Linked DNA regions of Homo sapiens: regions 2, 3 and 4 are each linked to region 1. Evidence: promoter capture Hi-C in 16 types of primary human blood cells and fetal thymus (Javierre and others, 2016). All regions are on one chromosome and are shown on one strand. Each heading gives the region's core, a stretch centred on a gene start or on the middle of the fragment in contact. The rest is flanking DNA. Distances are from core to core; before and after follow the strand shown. Region 1 holds the start of LINC01827 (long intergenic non-protein coding RNA 1827). Region 2 overlaps STK17B (serine/threonine kinase 17b). Region 3 overlaps HECW2 (HECT, C2 and WW domain containing E3 ubiquitin protein ligase 2). Region 4 overlaps HECW2 (HECT, C2 and WW domain containing E3 ubiquitin protein ligase 2).

Region 1 (2,947 bases), core at 9-2,508:
TAAGCTCTTGCTACTGCTTCTCTCTGCATGTCTATTCTAGGTTGCTCTTGTAGGCTGGCTCCACATGTAAGGATTTTACTTTGGGTTCCCTCATAATTTAATGTTCATGTAGCTGAAGCTTGCCATAGAGGTCTCACACTAAATACCTGTGACCCGACAACTCCAATTCTCATCACTTAACTATGACTTTTGTGTCTCAGTGAAATTTTTTCAAACAATATCATCTAGTTGGCTTGGCCTAACCTATGGATCGACTCTCAGAGTAGGTCTCCCCACCCTGGTCCAATCATCATAACCAGGGAGTAGGGTCATATGATATAAACATAGATGACTAGGCCCATCTGTTCAGCAGGGGAACAGATTCTTTTAGAAGGGAATGTGGGCAGAAAGGCAATTATATACATCTCTAACCAGAAAAATCCCAGGGGTGGAAATGATAGGAAGAAATGGCACCAAATTTAAAGATAAAAGAAAAGCTGCCACTGTAATTCAAAATTAGACAATGTAACTGATCATAGACTTTTGCTATAATCGCTATTTTGGCCTTATAATCTCTGAAATTTACTTTACAGAACAGTGAAACACTTCTTTGAGGAGAAACATTATAGAAGAAAACAATCTTTGATCTAGAAACCTAAAAAGATATTTATGCTCATTATATTCCAGGTGCTGAAGAGTGTCAAAGCACAGCTAAATATTATGCCATTTGTGCAGACTCGGAATGAGTTTAAGCACTGAAAGAGCTACCAGAATACCCCAGCAGAACATCTCAAAACAAAGCATTATTTCTCTCTTAAGAAAATTACCAGGCTGGGCACGGTGGCTCACACCTGTAATCTCAGCACTTTGGGAGGACGAGGCAGGCGGATCTACCTGAGGTGAGGGGTTCGAGACCAGCCTGCCCAATGCGGTGAAACCCCGTCTCTACTAAAACTAAAAAAAATAGCTGGGTGTGGTGGCGGGCACCTGTAATCCCAGCTACTCAGGAGGCTGAAGCAGGGAGAATTGCAGTGAGCCGGATTGCACCACTGCACTCCAGCCTGGGCGACAGAGTGAGACTCCATCTCAAAAAAAAAAAGGGAAAATTACCTATTTGCACTTCTTGATTTCCAGGAAGGTGTTAGAGATCTTCATCCCATCCCCAGCCCAAGTCTAGACGTGTTCACCGGAAAGGAAGAAGTTTTTGAGTTCTCAGCAGTAGCTGTGGCTCTAAGGAAAGCAGTGTTGTATGGGTATTAGAGTAGTACAACCAAAGCTCTGCTGGAACAAAAGAGGAACACAGAAAGCTAGGAATGACAAGTGTTTTTCTTCCCTCTCATATGATTCAGTCAGGCTGTCTTTGACCTACATAGCCATCTGACTGGCCACTGTTTTCTTTTCTTTCTTTTCTTTTTTTAGAGATGGGATCTTGCTGTGTTGCCCAGGCTGGACTGAAACTCCTGGGTTCCAGTGATGCTCTCTCCTGAGCTTCCCGAGCAGCTGGGACCACAGGCATACACCACTGCACTGCACTGCACTTGATTAGGTATATTTTAAAATGTAAAATAATAGTGAAAGGATTCTCCCTAGTCCCCATAAACCTGGGAATGGATCGAGGTGAGGACACCAAAACTTTCCCCTGAGACATGGAAATTGCACTGAATGTTTCTTGATGGTTCTAATGCATTAAGAATTAAGAGCTCTTTGCCTAGATTACCCCCAAAATATTAAAAATAACAAAACAAAGTAGAACTAAGGAAAAATATAAGACACATAGAGAAAATGTTTTTCAAAAAATGTTATTTGACCTATGGCTAATTCTGATTTTAAAAGCAGTTAAACAAACGAAACACAACCTAGTGATGCTTACGACTGAAGAAACCATTGATACCTGAAAGAAGGGAAGACTTTAGATATAAAGGCAGAGTGGAATTTTTTTAACCAACATTTCATGCAGCAGCTCCACATGGCCTTCCCATGTCTCAATAGCTTTGATTTGTGGAAATAATGGTTATGCAATTTCCACATATTGTGCTCCAATCACAGCATGTAAGCAACAATAAAAAGAAAACAACTAAATGTACTTGAAGCTGGAGATTTTGATAAGGTTTTCTTTTCACTTCACAAAGTTTGTTAACTGGATATTTTTCTAAGGCAACTGAAATATTCCTGCTGAGTTTCAGACAGATATATGTAAAAGCAGCAAAGTGTCTGATTTTCTTAAATGTATCTATGGCAGCAACACTAGTTAATTTAGTTGTGAAAAAATAACCAAAAAGAAACTATCGGACTATAAGAATTCCACAGTTGGCAGACTGTTGGTATTTCTCTTTCTCTTTAAATATATATATAAATATATCTATAAATATATATAAATATCTATAAATATATCTATAAATATATATATTAAATATATATATGCCATCTGTTTACAAAAGATGAGAAATGTTGGAGAAAATTATTTCCCTTAGGGTATAATGTTATGGCCATTCAGAGAGAGGTCTCTGGTATTTTCAAGGAGAATTTGGTACAAGAACAAGACAGCATCAGGTCTGCACAGTCATTGGCTGCAAAAAACAAAGATGATTTCCTTTAGTCCCTGTTTTAGTTTTACTCTTTGAACTTCCAAGTTTATTTATTGTTATTATTTTTAATGTGGCACAGATTGTTTTAAGAATCAACTTGGTTCCCTTTTTTGAAGTCCTTTTTTTTTTTTAATTTGTTGAGACTGGTTTCTAAAGTGCTCCACCTCCACCACCTGTCATTAGATGGGGGGCTGCGGCTTGGAGAACACTCACAGTTCTGAGTTCAGCTGTGGACGGAATAATGAAGGGCAGCTGCAGAAGGAGGTAGAGCTGCAGATTCAGAGGTAGGTGGCAATACAGTATTTCAAAATAAAAACTACCAAGCTTCAGATCGGTGATAAATTGTCATGCACTAAGTGTACCTGGAGAAATAAAACTAATCT
Region 2 (3,089 bases), core at 88-2,587, 590 kb after region 1:
ATGGAGACCTTGTCTCAAAAAATTAAATTAAAATTATAGCTTTCACATAACTAGATAGTAAAATTGTTTTCTCTACATCTCTTAGTCTTTGGGGAAACAGCTCTAACTAGTTTTGGGGTACATCTCTAGGAGTCAAAGGGTTGTAGTGTAGCATTCTGAGAATAACCTTTAGACTGAAAGACACCTGGGTCTGAATTCCATTCATCCATCATACCAGCTATGAGACCTTAATTAAATTATTTAACTTTGCTATTGTTATGGGCTGAATTGTGTCCTCCCCCAAATTCCTAAGTTGAAAAACCCTAACCCCTGTATCTCATAATGTGACTGTCTTTGGAGACAGGGCCTTTAAAAAGGTGATTAAGTTAAAATGAGGTCATTAAAGTGGGCCAATTAGGACACAGACACACACAGAGGAAAGACTATGTGAACACACTAGGAGAAGGCAGCCATCTACAAGCCAAGAGGGCAGGCCTCAGAAGAAACCAACCCCGCAGACACCCTGATCCCAGATTTCTAGCCTCCAGAATCGTTGAGAAAATATACTTCTGTTAAGTCGCCTGATCTGCGGCAACACAGTTATTTAAAAAGAAAACAAAATATATAATATTTCAAATGTAAGATAAGGAACACTATATACAAACATTTACTTTCCAATCTTATTACTTGGTCATATTTCATTTAAATTAAAAATAAAACATATTAGACATAGCCCCTTCTTTCCACCCCCAGTTTACACTCCCACTAGCACTGGATGGGACGGTTTATCACTACTTTGACAATACTTGCCCAATTCAGACTTTTAAGTTTGGCTATTCTAGTGTGATGAAGGTGAAATGGAATTTTGTTGTGATTTACTTCGCATTCCCTTTTACTGGTGAAGAAAGCTTCGATTTTGCTGCCTCTAAAGTATGGATGATAAAAGAATTGATCTTCCAGTGCTGCAAGGATTAAAAATTAAAATATGCTGAACTCATGTCCACTGACACAGGTACAGTGCAAGTCACAAGGGCATATCGCTATTGTTCCACAAAACAAAATTAACATTCTACCCAAAAATACTCTCCCTGCAGTTCCCTGCCATTGTTGAACAGCTGTACTGTTTCCATGTACAAAATTCTCATCCCAACTTAGTCTAAACTTCATTCTTAAAAGTATTTTTGTTTTCTGTTTTAACTACTTATGTATCTTCTTAGTTCTGATAGCGCTCAGTTTCACTGATTTTTTTCCATTGTTCTGAAAGATCAATATGGGTACCAATTTCCTCATAAGTTCATCTATTTATTAAAAATATACCTACATCACAAGCTGCTTTAGGCATCCATTAAGCATTTCTTAAGTTCATTTTCCTTTTATTTACTGCATCTGAACCAATTGTCAGAGCCAAGATATTTTTCCATTTCCTCTCCTTTGGCCAGTTTTGCATATAGTGGAGCATGAATGTCACCTTTGTCCACCAAGCCCTCCTCAAACATCTGGTTGCCCTTCATATAAGGTACATGCAGGTTATGAGTCAGCTCTCTGTCGCTCCTTCTTGTATCTTCCTAAATTTCCCACCAAATTCTCTTTAACTCCAACAATTCCCAGGCCTTTTCTTGTCTTCTACCACACTTCATATTACCGATTCTAAATTACCTATATGTCTCACTCCATTTGAAATTCATTTCATAACATTTTATCAGGTTATAGCATTTAAAAAAAATCTTAAGGGACCTGGTAAGTAAATTTATATGCATGTGTATACACGATTAGATCCTATAAAAAGTGTAATAGAAGGTAAGACACAATTAAGCTTTTAATCACACAGTACTACTACAAATAATGGTATCTCACTTATTTTTAAAGATTTTTTTCATTAATTCTCATTATAATAATTACCAAAAGAATTTGGAAGTAGATCAGTGAAGGAAGGAAAAGAAGGAAATGTTAGGCTTGATCTGGGCCTTCACTTACTTGAATGCAGAAAGCAAGTGTGATGTGAACAAAAGCAAGACTATCTCTATAAACCTCTAGCTCTATTTTAAAAAGTATTTATCATGATATTTATTTCAAAATTATCAAATAAGAAAGTTTTTAAAAAATAGAATATACAATAATAAAGACATTTAGAAAATCAAATTGTCTGTTTTGATTCCTTCATTAGCTCCCCAGTATCTACAAGCTTTCAAGTACTTACAGCATGACACATAAAGGCCTCTGAGGCCAAGTATACACCAGCTACATTTCCTGCCGCACTCATATTTCATATTTTGCCACCACATCTTTGTTATACTTCTTTGCCTGAAAAAGCCTTTCTACTTTCCTTAAATGGCTAACTCTTCTTACACATCCTTCAAAACTCAACACAGAATGGCCTCTCCCCCAGGAAGCTTTGCCTAAAAACCACAGGCTGATTTAAAGGCTTCTCCTTTATGCTTCAAATAAGAGGATCCTTGGCATACTTCTTTACCTCAAAATGTAACATGTTAGATTGCAATTCTGTTCAGTGTTTAAAGGGCAGCATCCTTTTACTTTTGTGCCTAAGCAACCAGCATGGTATCTGCCACCCGGTAGGAATTTTAAAAATGTTTGATGAACTGAATTGTAAGAATTATGAGATATAGAAAAAAGAATTTGTAGGTATATCTCATGTCTTCGAGGGGTTAGGAGAACTTGAGATCCATCTTGAATTTACAGTACTGGAGCTCTGAATGCAGCTAGTCTCTGCTTAATTCAGCATTTGGACAAATAAAGTAACTATTTTAAATTGCACTTACAAAATGTCAGTTCTAAACAGGTAGCCACAAAGTCTGGAAACACAGATAAAATTATTTTGTCATATACTATAATGTAATGCCAATAGACCTTTTGTTTTTACCACTGTTTCCAGACAAGGTGGCTACTTGTTTTTAATATAAGCTACTAATACAAATACCTACTGCAGTTAAGAACATCACTCTTTTAAGAGCCTCCAAAAATCAGGAGATTCAGGTAAGTGTCCTATCAAGATTTATCACTGATAAGTCTAGATCATCATGAAGTACATTGGAAAGGCAACAGGAAGCAAAGTAAGCCCGAAGATTCTAAGGGAAGCAACTCCTTTCTACATA
Region 3 (3,106 bases), core at 447-2,946, 620 kb after region 1:
TTTTTTGAGATGGAGTTTTGCTCTTTGTTGCCCAGGCTGGAGTGCAATGGTGCCATCTCGGCTCACTGCAACCTGCGCCTCCCCAGTTCAAGTGATTCTCCTGCCTCAGCCTCCCCAGTAGCTGGGATTACGGGCGCCGGCCAACACACTCAGTCAATTTTTGTATTTTTAGTAGAGATGGGGTTTCACTATGTTGGCCAGACTGGTCTCGAACTCCTGACCTCAGGCGATCCACCTGCCTCGGCCTCCCGAAGTGCTGGGATTACAGGCCTGAGCCACTGCTCCTGGCCCCTAGCTTTTCCTTTCTAAGTGAAACACCAGTGATTAAACATCTTTTGGAAGCATCTATCCATACAAGGATTTGAAAATAATAGGACAAATAAAGTGTGTGAAACTCATGTGTATCAAGGTAAACATTATATCTTTATCAGATGTTCTCATTTCTTTATTCTTGCGATTCCAAAGTTAACTTTGGCTGACAAATGAGGTATCTATTTAGAAGGGGAAAAAAAGTAGTTAATGGGTCAACATTTTTGAGCAAGAAAAGGAGGAGAAAAGTATGAAGAGACTTCAACTTCATACTTAAACTTTACTTCATACTTAAACCAGAATGTCTTTAACTGGTTTAAGTATGAAATAAAGAACAGTATGAAAGACTTCCTGGGATGGTGGATAGTGGGAATTATTCATTATTATTTGTTACTAAACTCTCACTAATTAAATGGGGTTCAGGATTAAAGGAAATTACGAAGGCAGATATATTTATCATTCTAAAAACACACTGAGGTCCAAGGATACAGAGGGATGTCATGGCACAAAAGCCAGAAGTCAGTGCTGTGAATCAGTATCTTGCTCTTCCCCCTCTTCCCCCTTCAATAACAATGTCAGACTTCAGTCGGTGATAGGAGATGAATCTTCTGCTTAAATGCTGTCATGTGATATATGAAGTTCATTTCTAGTGTAAAATATGTAATAAGAAGCTTAATGGCACACGTATTCCATGAAATCTTGACAGGGTTGCTCTTAACTCATATGAATTAACACAAGTTGGTTTTCACGAGTTAATTCATATAAATTAACATGAGTTGCTAAATACAGATCATTTTAAGGGCACCCCTTAGTGATTGACTGCCCTCATAGTGTGTAGAGATATATATATATACACACACACACACACACATATATATATGGCGCTATATATATATTCCCCATCTCTTTTTATTAACTGCCGTGTTTTAGTAACATTTTACTTATCTGGCCAATTTACACCACTAGTCAACTAAATATAAAAGATAATGTTATCCATTAAAACAAGGGTTCCAAACTGGTGACCTGCAGGGCAAATCAATGTGTAGCTATATTTGGTTTGATCCACCCACTACTAAAAAGATCTGGAAATATCACACAAAAATTTGGGTTTCTGGGTTTCCCTTGATATATTAGATCTTTTAACACTAGACTGGAATTTCATGTGGCTAGGATCTGCTGGAGCAAAATATTAGAATGTCCCTTTATGTAAGCCCTACCACTGTGTGTTGCTTCCACCTAGCCAATTTCACTCGTTAAATACCTATCTGGTCCCTGTAGGCATATGCACACGCGACCCCTAGATTAAATTGATGTGCGTGGTAGTGGTGGCGGCGGCAGTGGTGTGCCTATGTGTTTATAAATTAAACATTCAAATAAGATGGCTTAACAAATAGTCTCAACCCATGTGAGTTAAGAAATTATGATTTGTATTATAATTCATTCCTTTAACATTAACAGCCCATCAAACAGTAAAATATTCTTGTAGGGATAAACAAAGTAGATTCCAAACAAAATAAACAAATATTTTATTAATAAATAATAAAAATATAAATAAAAATAAACAAAATACTATAAATACTATGAAAACAGAACCTCCAATATTTATAGAGCTGCAAACTAATGCCATGAAATCTTTATCTCTACTTCTATTCTCCTCCCTTCTGAGTTTTCCCTCCCCAAAAGTATTACAGAAAAGTCATAATCTATTTTTTTTAAAGAAGATTTATTTTGGATTAAGTGATTTCATGATGCAACATGGTTTTAAACAAAAATAGAGATCAGTATGAAAATAAAACAAATTGTACACATTAAAATATCTTTCCCTCAAAGCATTTCGGAATCATAAAAAATACAACAAAAGAGTCAGGGGTTCAGTTGAGAATAAGAATACAGACTTCCCAGAAAATAAACAACTAGTCCCAGTTCAGAGTCCTAGGCCCCATATAATACCACCCAGAAACCATTTCTAGGATGTCAACAATCTGCATTATTTACTTTGAAAAAAAAATTACATATAAGGTGAAGTGAGAGCTGTATAACCTTAATGCTAACAGCAAGCATCTCCCATTATTATTCTCCATCAAAAGTCACATTAAATAAATATGAAGCTTAAATCAACGCAAAAACTGAAATACCACTATTAACTGTGACACACTGTGTGGTGAACGTAATGACTGAGGTTGGTGAAGAGAAATTAAAAGCTTAAAAAAATACACCACCTGTGTTCTACTGAAATCTTAGAAATAATTTTTTTACAGAGCCTTAATATTAAAAAGTAATCATTACTATAAAATTAGATTAATACTTTCAGTAAGAGGCGAGAGAGATGCATGTATTTTTATTCATTTATTTTGGAATGCCTGCATCCCTATTATAAAAACATGTAATTTTAAGCACTTTCCAACATATTAACAGCCCCAAATTTTACTTATGCTATCATATAAAGAAAAATAGGTTGTAATTTTATCTTTTAGAGCATTAGGGTCCTAAAAGAACATCCCATTCTGTGTTAATTCCTGGTTAATCCTTCCAAGGTAATTCCTGAACATCATCCATTCTTTTTTATGAAGGTGATAGTAACCAGAAGTTGACTGATGGTTCCTTACCTGCATCAGTAATAGCTGATTCAGTTTGAATCACACAACACGGCTATCCACACTCCTCAGGTTGTAATATCTTAAAAGTCATATAGAAAGATATCACCTGCCCAAGGGCACTACACATAAAAATCACATATATAAATTTAATTCTCCTGTGTTCCCCAGAAACCATACAACTAGGGCCATCTTATTCTGCT
Region 4 (3,421 bases), core at 651-3,150, 640 kb after region 1:
CAACTTTGTAATATAAATGCTAATTTCTATCCCAACTTTTCAGATATGGATACAGAGATATGAAAGTCTGGATTATGATTTTGGAATTTCTTGTCTGGAGTGGTCCAAAGTTATCCCTAAAGATTTCAAATTCACTAAAAACAATATTTATGGAGTACATGTGCTAAGCACTGGGCTCACTGCTAGGAGCAAAGCCATGTTTAATTCAGATAAGGTACTTGTTCTCACAGGATTATACTCCAGAGGAGGAGACAGATAATCAACAAGTAAACCAATAACTGAACATGATGACTGAATTGGGTCAAGCCTAGTGAAGGAAGTAAGGGGTGAAAGAGTGACAGGTGCACTAAGGACAGAAGCCTGGTGGGCCTTTCTCAGGAGATCACCTCTAACCCGAGTCTTGGGGACAAGAAAGAGCCAGGCATGAAGGACCAGCAGATAAGTGTTATAGGCAGCAATTCCCTGAGCCTTGAAGCATAATTGAGTTTGGCATATTTGAGGAATACACAGAAGGAGGCTGGTAGGTGTCATGGGTTGGGGGAGAGGGTACATGTTGAGGTTGCAGGAGGAGGCAGACCAGGGCCCCACAGGAAGTCCTTGGGAAGGAGTCTGGATTTTATTCTAAGCCACCAGAGGGTGTAGGCAAGGGAGGGAGGTGACCTTGAGATGTTTGCAGATCCCAGTGGTTGTTGAGTGCAGAATGAATGAATGGTGGGATGCAGGAGAAGCAGGGGATTTAGCCAGCAGTCTACTGCAGTAGTCCAGGTGAGGGGGGATGGTGTCATGGACTAGGCTGGTGGAAAGAAATGAGCCCAAACTGGTTTTTGCTCTTGAGGCCAAGGAAAAGTGGGTAAGCATTCTTTAACTGTTGCAATGTCTGTCACTCACAAATAGACACTTTAAAATCTGACTTGTGAAATAGCTCTCAAGGACCTTTAGTAGATTTGACTTGGACTATCCTGTCCTCTGTTGTCAGCAGCAACAATGCTGATGGAATGCAAGTGGAATGATTATCTCATTCCATTAAAGTCACAAATTCTTTCAATAGCTTGACGTTTTACATTAATTACAGAAGAGTCCCTTTTTTTAATACAATCTGTTTTTATGATAAATTTACCCACCTCCCAAAGTAAAGACCAATCCAAAAGGTATATGACATTTAAGAATCTTTAATATGGTGATGTGATGGGTTAACTCTGGCATGTTTTTGTTAGTACATGCAGATTCAATGGCAGAATAAAGTGAAAATTTAAAATACAGTTATATAGAACTGAGTGAGAGGGCAGAGGGGAAAGGAGTTGAAGAGAGTCTTGGACCTGAGGTTCAACTACAGAGCAGACCACTGTATGAGAATCTCCTGTCAATTCTCTCCCACACGAAAAGCCACATCAGCTCATCAGCAGGCGGTAGGGAATTAGGAAGACCAACGAGGGACACCTCAGGGCAAATATAGAAAGGAGATGGCCCCAAAGGGTCCTTCTAGTACTCATCTCTTGTTCTGATGGTTTTTCTTTCTTTCTTTCTTTTTTTTTTTTTTTTGAGACGGAGTCTGGCTCTGTCGCCCAGGCTGGAGCGCAGTGGTGCGATCTCGGCTCACTGCAAGCTCCGCCTCCCGGGCTCCCGCCATTCTCCTGCCTCTGCCTCCCGAGTAGATGGGGCTACAGGCGCCCACCACCACGCCCGGCCAACTTTTTGTATTTTTAGTAGAGACGGGGTTTCACCATGTTAGCCAGGATGGTCTCCATCTCCTGACCTCGTGATCTGCCCACCTTGGCCTCCCAAAGTGCTGGGATTACAGGCGTGAGCCACTGTGCCCAGCCTGGTTTTTCTTTTAATTGAGGAAAGTGACATTGTATTTCAGGACTTGGTTATTTTCCGGTATACTGGCTGATAATTCACTTTGACAGTAGACAATGCTCCCTATAATGGAGGAGGGAAAACTGAATTATTGATAACATTACAGAGCAATATTTAATGACATGGAAAGATGTTCCATGTGATAAACGGAATGTTGTTTTAAAATGTGTGTGTGTGTGTATGTGTGTGTCTGTGTGCCTGTGTGTACCTGAAGAAATGAGTGAAATCACATACTCTAACATGTTAACAGAGCTTATCTTAGTAATTGACTTTTTTTTCCTTCAGAAATGGTATCTCTCTATGTTGCTCAGGTTTGACTCAAACTCCCATGCTCAAGCCTTAGCCTCCCAAGTACCTGGGACTCCAAGCATGCACCACCATGACCAGCTAGTAGTGGACATTGGGTGGACATTGGATTGATACATATGTAGGTATTTTAATATATATTTAATATATACATATATTTCTTAGCAATTTTTTGTAAAATTTTCTTTTTATAAATTAGAATAAAAAGCAGATTTTTTTTTCTTTTGAGATGGAGTCTCACTCTGTCACCCAGGCTGGAGTGCAGTGGCATGATCTTGGCTCACTGCAACCTCCACCTCCTGGGTTCAAGTGATTCTTCTGCCTCAGCCTCCCGAGTAGCTGGGATTACAGGTGCACACCACCATGCCTGGCTAATTTTTGTATTTTTTTTTTTTTAAGTAGAGATGGGGGTTTCACCATATTGGCCAGGGTGGTCTCAAACTCCTGACCTCAAGTGATCTGCCTGCCTTGGACTCCCAAAGTGCTGGGATTTCAGGTGTGAGCCACTGCACTCTGCCAAAAAGCAGAATTTTAAAAACAAAAAGTTGTTATGTTTTTAAAAAATAATTTTATCTTTTAAAGTTCTATTCCATTAGATTAACTGTCTCCATAAGACATCTATTTCATAATTAACTCTTACAATTTATTTCTTAATTTCAGTTAGCATTTCATTCATAATAATCTCCAGACACAGCCATTTTCAAAAATTAACGCTTTTCCCTTTGGCAATAACCAACACACCCCCATGACGATTGCAGCTCTCAGGTCCTCCGTCCCATCACCCAACTTGGCAAGAACCTGGGGGATGAACACAGAAACTCACACCATGGTGGGAGACAGGACTGCTCTGCAGTTTTCAGGCTGGCATCTTAGCAGCGCATTTTTTGGACTGTTTGAGAGCAATTGCCACAAAGTGAATGTACTCTCTTTTCATAAAGTCCATCAGAGCACCAGGGGTATGAAGTCTTCCACAGAAATGCAAAATACAGAGCTAACCACCGACCGCGAAGCAGAGGAAGTGCAGTCATGTGCTCAGGCTGTAGGTCTCCATGGAGACACCCTTCTGTCTACATCCTTATTTATCATCTGGGTCTCTAGTCACTTCATAACCACAAGAGGAAAAAAGAGCCATGGATTCAACTTGCACTGGCTGCAGAGACAACCATATATACTTTTATATACTCCTTGACTCATACTGTGAGCAGCGCTATCCACTGCTACCGCAAAGTGAGACTAGGAAATCTGAGAAAAGAATGAG

Evidence for each region. The method cuts DNA at HindIII sites, captures the fragments that hold promoters and counts their contacts. A CHiCAGO score of 5 or more calls a contact.
Region 2: a fragment that was not itself captured here is called in contact with the fragment with the promoter of LINC01827 in region 1 in 2 of 17 cell types (non-activated CD4 T cells and M2 macrophages); the score reaches 6.1 in non-activated CD4 T cells.
Region 3: a fragment that was not itself captured here is called in contact with the fragment with the promoter of LINC01827 in region 1 in 1 of 17 cell types (non-activated CD4 T cells); the score reaches 5.6 in non-activated CD4 T cells.
Region 4: a fragment that was not itself captured here is called in contact with the fragment with the promoter of LINC01827 in region 1 in 1 of 17 cell types (non-activated CD4 T cells); the score reaches 5.8 in non-activated CD4 T cells.

Annotation. Positions count from the first base shown.
Region 1 is chr2:195,573,235-195,576,181 of GRCh38, forward strand. It overlaps LINC01827 (long intergenic non-protein coding RNA 1827), which reads right to left and starts at 1,259. Exons shown (of 2, transcript NR_187191.1): 1 at 1,090-1,259. The HindIII fragment of the contact is 2,770 bases long and covers 117-2,886 here.
Region 2 is chr2:196,164,794-196,167,882 of GRCh38, forward strand. All of the region lies in intron 1 of STK17B (serine/threonine kinase 17b), which reads right to left. Among named protein-coding and RNA genes, the nearest start is that of STK17B, 5.2 kb to the right of the region's middle. RefSeq lists an enhancer at 2,368-2,437. The HindIII fragment of the contact is 905 bases long and covers 886-1,790 here.
Region 3 is chr2:196,192,357-196,195,462 of GRCh38, forward strand. It overlaps HECW2 (HECT, C2 and WW domain containing E3 ubiquitin protein ligase 2), which reads right to left. Exons shown (of 29, transcript NM_001348768.2): 29 at 1,716-3,106. Among named protein-coding and RNA genes, the nearest start is that of STK17B, 22 kb to the left of the region's middle. The HindIII fragment of the contact is 1,437 bases long and covers 979-2,415 here.
Region 4 is chr2:196,208,243-196,211,663 of GRCh38, forward strand. All of the region lies in intron 28 of HECW2 (HECT, C2 and WW domain containing E3 ubiquitin protein ligase 2), which reads right to left. Among named protein-coding and RNA genes, the nearest start is that of STK17B, 38 kb to the left of the region's middle. The HindIII fragment of the contact is 9,346 bases long and covers 1-3,421 here.